2 separate regions of the Homo sapiens genome follow, and region 1 is linked to region 2. The links are contacts of gene promoters, found by promoter capture Hi-C in human tissues and cell types (Jung and others, 2019). All regions are on one chromosome and are shown on one strand. Each heading gives the region's core, a stretch centred on a gene start or on the middle of the fragment in contact. The rest is flanking DNA. Distances are from core to core; before and after follow the strand shown. Region 1 overlaps KCNN2 (potassium calcium-activated channel subfamily N member 2). Region 2 holds the start of KCNN2 (potassium calcium-activated channel subfamily N member 2).

The links. The method cuts DNA at HindIII sites, captures the fragments that hold promoters and counts their contacts. A contact is called where the count stands out against the background at its distance.
Region 1: a fragment that was not itself captured here is called in contact with the fragment with the promoter of KCNN2 in region 2 in 2 of the 25 tissues and cell types used here (adrenal gland and hippocampus).

What each region holds. Positions count from the first base shown.
Region 1 is chr5:114,464,436-114,467,707 of GRCh38, reverse strand. The region is part of intron 4 of KCNN2 (potassium calcium-activated channel subfamily N member 2); the gene reads right to left. All of the region lies in intron 11 of LOC101927078 (a long non-coding RNA gene), which reads left to right. Among named protein-coding and RNA genes, the nearest start is that of KCNN2, 100 kb to the right of the region's middle. The HindIII fragment of the contact is 3,136 bases long and covers 1-2,962 here.
Region 2 is chr5:114,360,226-114,363,371 of GRCh38, reverse strand. It overlaps KCNN2 (potassium calcium-activated channel subfamily N member 2), which reads right to left and starts at 1,302. Exons shown (of 8, transcript NM_021614.4): 1 at 111-1,302. The coding sequence starts at 1,232. RefSeq lists a silencer at 2,025-2,234 and an enhancer at 2,273-3,146. The HindIII fragment of the contact is 16,034 bases long and covers 1-3,146 here.

The sequences.
Region 1 (3,272 bases), core at 145-2,644, 100 kb before region 2:
GACATTTTTTTGCGATCCACTTATGAAATTTCTTGGTGGGAAGTGAAGGTCCTCAAGAAAGGACATTGGTGGGGAATTTAGCCTTATGACTGAAAAGGCCCATCTCCTCCAGCTGCTCTGCACAAAATAGAAACTATTGTATGTAAGAACTTAAAGATATACTCTCTTCACTGGGGCTTTATCTGATGAGATTCAGTGAACGCACCAGAAAGAACCAAAAAGCAAGCAATACAAAAGTTAAAACCTCTTCAAAATTAAACACCCAATGTCAAATTGTGTAAGACATTTTTAAAAATCCTTGAGTGTTTTGCACATTCTCAAACATTCAACACTAAGGAATGGCTTCAGATCAGTTTTGCAGGATTTCTATGTACACTGGCGGGGGAAAACAAATCCTCAAATGGAAACAGAGAGTGTTACAGGAAGAGGAGTATAATCAGACCTTAGGTTTCGCATTCTTTCATACCAATCACTTCTTTTTTATGAGCTCTAGCTAATTCGTGCTGTTTTGGAACACCCTCTTAGCGACTTAACAGGGTAGTGTTTTTGCTCTTCAGGATGCAAACTGTTTGTTTAACTGACAACTAATGGAGTCACCATGTGATGTTAAATTAAGATTTCCTCGGCACAGGGCAAATTTAACGTGGAAAGGATTATTATCAAATCTTAAGGAAAAGGCAAGGCTGTGTAAAGGCTTCTGTCCTGAACTGACTTGTTTTTTTGCTCCTTGAAGAAAATTTTAAAATTTAATTAGCGTAGTGATTTTCAAATTGCTATGAACTGCGAAAGCTTTACGCATTGCTTTTGTTTACATAGAACTACTAGTGGGATGGAAGAAACCTAAATCACTGATATCTGAAGTGTCCTCAGTTTTGTTGAGGGAGTCATGCTAGATGTTGTCAAAGTCTAGTGGTTTATAAATCACTATTAGAGAACCATTTATTGAATAACAACCTGCATCCCTAGGAATGAACAGATATTACTCGATATTTAAAGATAATTAAACCAAAAAATCCAGTCATCCATACTCTAGTCAAAAGGCCACCAAGAGTCACTGTAATTTTACAGAAATAGAGAAGCAAAAAGAACAAATGAGCAACCTTAATTCCAGTATAAGATGAAAGATACCCTTACCCACAAGGCTATTTTTCACTCTTGAAACAATCATATATATTCATAGTTGTGGGAGAATTCATAGCTTTCAGGATGTGTTTTATATATATATATATATATTTCTAGGAAGATAAAATAACTTTGTAAATGCTAAGTAAAACAATTACTTTATTGGAAAATTGGAGACATTGAGAAACTAGCTGGTGCTGTCCAAAAGCTGATAGACACTGTGATCTAACCATATTACTTGCCTACCATCTTCAACCAAAAGTACAAAGCTACTCAGAAATCATCCCATTGTTTATCATGACCTTTACAATAGTAAACCCTCAGGTCTTCAGTACTTCCTCAAATAGCAGAAGGGTAGAAGAATAAAAAGAGAAAATAAGTAATTACAACCATAATGGTTTTCTCTTGAAGGGTAGTGAGTGGTTTTCTTTTATTTCTTCTATTAGGCAATCTCATGACTTATTTTATAAAAATAATAATAAGAGATCTTGGTCTCTTAAGCTTTAATTCCCATATTGGTCTTGGTAATGAAGAAATTTCTACATTCTCCATAGGAGTGTCTAGGTCACTTTCATCCATATGCTCTTGATCCCTAAGGAGCTGATGTAAGATGTAATCAACTGCCAGAAGTGAATCCCAGGAAGACTGCCCCGTAGCCTGACTCCATGGGAATCTGCTTAGTCTAGAAGAAGAGATAATCCAACTCTACAGAGCATCTCAAATATGTTACTCAAATATTAGTGAATTTCTCTGTATGCAAGTAAACCAATTTTGATCAAGTCAATTAATTAGGAAATAAGTCTGATCCTTATGAAGGAGAGGGAATGGAGCTCCTCAGCCTAAGAATAGAGGGACTCTTTTACCATAAGCTTAAGGGCTGGAACGAAGTCACCATAAATTCCATTACATATAACATTTTTGTGTCCACATATATTTAATGGTACTATAACCTCTCTCTTTTTTTTTTTTTGAGATGATGGAGTTTCACTCTTGTTGCCCAGGCTAGAGTGCCATGGCGCAATCTCGGCTCACTGCAACCTCCGCCTCCCACGTTCAAGAGATTCTCCTGCCTCAGCCTCCTGAATAGCTGGGATTATAGGCATGTGCCACCACACCTGGCTAATTCTGTATTTTTAGTAGAGAGGGGGTTTCTCCATGTTGGTCAGGTTGGTCTCGAACTCCCAACCTCAGGTGATCCACCTGCCTCGGCCTCCCAAAGTGTTGGGATTACAGGCGTGGGACACAGTGCCAGGCCATAACCTCTCTTTTTTAAGCAAAGTAAGATCAGTAGTGAAACCTGAGCAAGAGGCAGTTCAAGAAGGTAAATAAAAGATTTGTACTATCTGATGAGACTTTGAAGGAACAGTTTTTGAGACACGAGGAACAAGAAAATATCAAGGAACGATAAACATTTTGTAAAACCCAGGCAAGGTTAACCTCAAATTTGGCTCAGATTCCATGGCAAATAAGCCTGTGCACATGACCCTTGAGTCACACCTGATTGGAGAATAAAAGAGGGTACCATCTTGACAAAAAGTAACACTAAGGAAGTTGTTTCTAAGAAGCACTAGGGGAAAGACTCTGCAATTACTAGTTTTTATAAATAGCATCATTTATATCCCTTGTGGACTTGTTATGGGCCTCCTAAAAATAATCTATGCAAATTACATTTCCCAAAGCATTATACCACATAATAAAATGCTATTATTTGAGGAAAAAAGGGGAAGTGATCCAATAGTAAACAAACAGATAATGCAGCATACCGTTTTTTTTTTTAAAGTTCACTATAATTAAAACTATTATTTTTCTTTTAAAGGCAAATAATGTTAAATTATGCCCCCAAACTATATTTTCTACAATTGGGACTTGAAATGGCCATCTTGTTACTACTGGGACATTAAAATTGACCCTGGATTCTTATTTTCAAAGTTAGCTGCCTTATCCCAGTTGAACACTACCGAGGGGGGAGAAGGATGTTGCCTGTCTATGCCAAGGGCACGCTCTCCTTCCACTTAGCTGTGACTCTTGGAGCAGTCTTCCCAGGCAGCTTCTGCAAAGGTGTGCACCCTCCACTGGCCACCACTCAGAGGCCCTCAAATGACAACCCTCTGCTCTCTCCTACCAGCCTGTGGGTGAATACAGTTAGAGGT
Region 2 (3,146 bases), core at 53-2,552:
TGATCGTCCCGGAGAGGCTAGGGATCCGCACGCAAAGGGTCCCCGCCAGTGCCCATCCCAACCACCCAGTGCCCGACTCCGGTAGCGTGGGCTGGGGTTCAAGCCTGTACCTTGTCGTAGGCGCCCCACGACAGCTCGGTCTCGATGACCATGACCACGATGCCGAACATGCCGAAGATGAGCGCGTAGTCGCTGAGCCGCTTGCGCTTTTCGAACAGGGCGCGCCGGTGGCCCAGCTTGTAGCCGATGTTCTGGTTTTTCTTTTTGCTGGACTTGGTGCCACTGCTGCTGCCGTGCCCGCTCCCGCCACCGCCGCCGCCTCCTCCAGTGCTGCCTCCGCCGCCGGTTCCATAGAGCGCCAGGTTGTTGGAGTTGTTGTGCTCGGGCTTAGACACCACGATCTCGGGGGCTGAGGACGAAACAGCGGCGGCGGCGGCAGCGGCTGCAGACGGGGAGGACGCGCCGCCACCTCCTCCGACAGACGCGGGGGGCTGCAGGGGCTGCGCCTCTGAGTCCATCTCGTGCAGGTTCCGGCGGGACGCGCTCAAGTTGCTGAGCGGCCGCATGACGCCCCCGTTGTACCTGCAGCTGCTCATGGCTATTTCGGTGAAGGGGTTGCTCTCGCGGCGCGCCTGGGGCTGGTGGTGCTGGTGGTGCGCCGGGTGCGGGTGGTGGTGGTGGTGCGAGAGCGGGGGCCCGGAGCCCAGACTGCCGAGGCTGCCCGTGGGGCTGGCGGCGGGCTGCAGGCTGTGGCACTGGTGGTACTGGGAGGCGGACGCCGACTGCTGCGCGGACTGCTGCGCGTACTGCTGCCGGAGCGCACTGGCATGGCTGGACGGCGTCAGCTCGCTCACATTGAGCTGGCTGCCCCGGCGCGACGAGCAGCAGCAGCAGCAGCAGGACGAGCCCGACAGCGGCGAGGAGGTGCGGGTCCGGAAGGCGCCGCCGGGCGAGGAGGTGCGGAGCAGCAGGGACAGGTTATCTCCCGCCCCCGCCGCCGGGGCACCGGAGGAGGCGCAGCTGTTGCACCGGAGGCATGGGCTGCTGCCGCCGCTGGCCGGCTGCTGGTGCGCGAGGTGCGGGTGGTGGTGAGGGTGCGGGAGGGGCGCGAAGGGCGGGCACGGCTTGTCCTGGCTCTGTTGCTGCTGCTGGCAATGCAGGTGTGAGGAGCGCGGCGGCGGCGGCGGCTGCTCTGGGAAGAAGCCGCGCTGGAACTGCAATGGGGTTTCCATGTCAGGGCTGTTAAAGCTGCAGGGAGACCAAGCGGTGGTGCACCCTGCGCAATGCGTTATGGTCGGGAGCGGGGACTCCTGCTGCTGGTGCGAGGAAGGGCCCATGCCGGCTCCGGTAGAATCCAGGCGGCGAGTCCGATTGGTTGGGCGCACCAAAACAATGGGCATGACATCACCTGCGGGGACCGAGACTGAGTTTGCGGCGCGCGCGGCTTAGGGAAGCGTGTGTGGCAGAGAAAGATGGGGAGGGGAATCTGCAGGACAAACCCTAGGGGGGTGCAGTCCAGAGCCAGGGCGCTCCAGGGCAGGGATTCCGCCTGCTGATTGCGTGGAGATGGAGAGCCCCCACGCAGTGCAGCTGGGCTGCAGGGGGAGGAGAAAAGAGAAAGGCGCCCCTCCCTCCCGTGCCGCTGCCCCCTTGACTAGTGCCGGACGCGCTGCCCGGATCACCTGCGCCAGCCACTGCAGCACGTCGGGCCACCTTGGCCGGGGGCAGGCTCAGGGACGGTGTGGAACCCCGACCACTTCTCCGACTGCACGCCTCGCAGGGCTGCAAAACAGCAGCCCCCTCGTCCCACGCCCGCTTCTCCCAGATCATCCCGCCGAGAGTGGGCTGCCGGCTGCCCGCCAAGTAACTGCGGGGGCACTGGCTTTGGGGAGAAAAAGTTTGGCGACCGGCTGCGCCAGTGCAGCAGCGTGTGGGGAGAATCCCGGGGCCTGAGCCCTGCCTTGGCCGCTGCGGGATCATAGCCGACCCCGAGACCGGATCTTTCCCAGCCGGCAGGCTCTGGAATCTGGATTGGGTGCGCGGCGCTCTAGCCCAAGTGCGCTGCGGCGCGGGTAGGGTTAACCGCCTCGGCACCCCGGCCGGGGGTGGGTGGGGGCGGGGCCGGAGGAGGGGATCCCCGCAGTCTGCCGACAGAGCCGGCCGGGCTTCCCGGGTCCCCCCTGGCGGGGGCGGAGGGCTTTCCCCGCTACCGCCAGCTCACATTTGCGCCTTCTCCAGAACATGAGGGGATGGCGCCCCCGGCCGCCGGGTCCTGGGCTCTGGCGCTCAGGCCCTCCGGCAGCCCGAATCCGGAGGTCCCAGGGCTTCCTTGCCGGTGGAGAGGCAGGCGGCTCGCTCAAAGGTGTGGGGGCTGCTCAGCCACCGCCGGCCTCCAGCTGCTCTTCTGCTTCTCTTCCTCCTCCTCACCTGCAGCGCAGACACAAAGCAAAGACCGGTCACAAATACGCAAATATCGAGCATCTTTGCCAAGTCCTAACTGCAGCGGCGGGTGGGAAAGGGGCCTGGCGCGGGCTGATTCACCCCGGTAGTCGCAGCCTGGCAGGGAAATTAAGAATGATAGCTTGGGCTGAATAGTCGCTGCCCACGGACAGTGCTGGAGTTTTGTTGGAGTTCGGTATCATTATTTATTTATTTACTCTCTAATAAACTAACAAAAATTGCATTTGGTGTCTCACAAATTCCCTGTGCTGTCTTCTTCTAAGAGATGTACCAACACAATGCACTAGGTGATCCTTATGTTCTTTGTTTCTGCTCCATCTTAAGTCTTTACATTTGCATTTCTTTGTGAATTCAAATTCCCGTCTCCCCCTAAAGAAGGTGAAAGAAATTGGCCCGTTGAATATTTGTTTCCATTTTAAATTATTTTAAAGCCTGCTTTTCATGATAAAGACTATTACAACGAGTTAGACCTAGCAATTAGAGTGAAAGCGGATCACCCTCATTAGGTCATTAGGTAATTGGAATTCTCAGCTGGATCCAATTTCTTGATATTCTACTCGGCAGCTGCCCTAAAGTTGCTTACCTGGTATCTGCTTTTCAGAGTGTGCGTGTGTGCGCTTTCAATGCCATGGAATGAATAATTCATTTTATGATGTTCTTTGGACACATGTTAATTTTAATTTTTT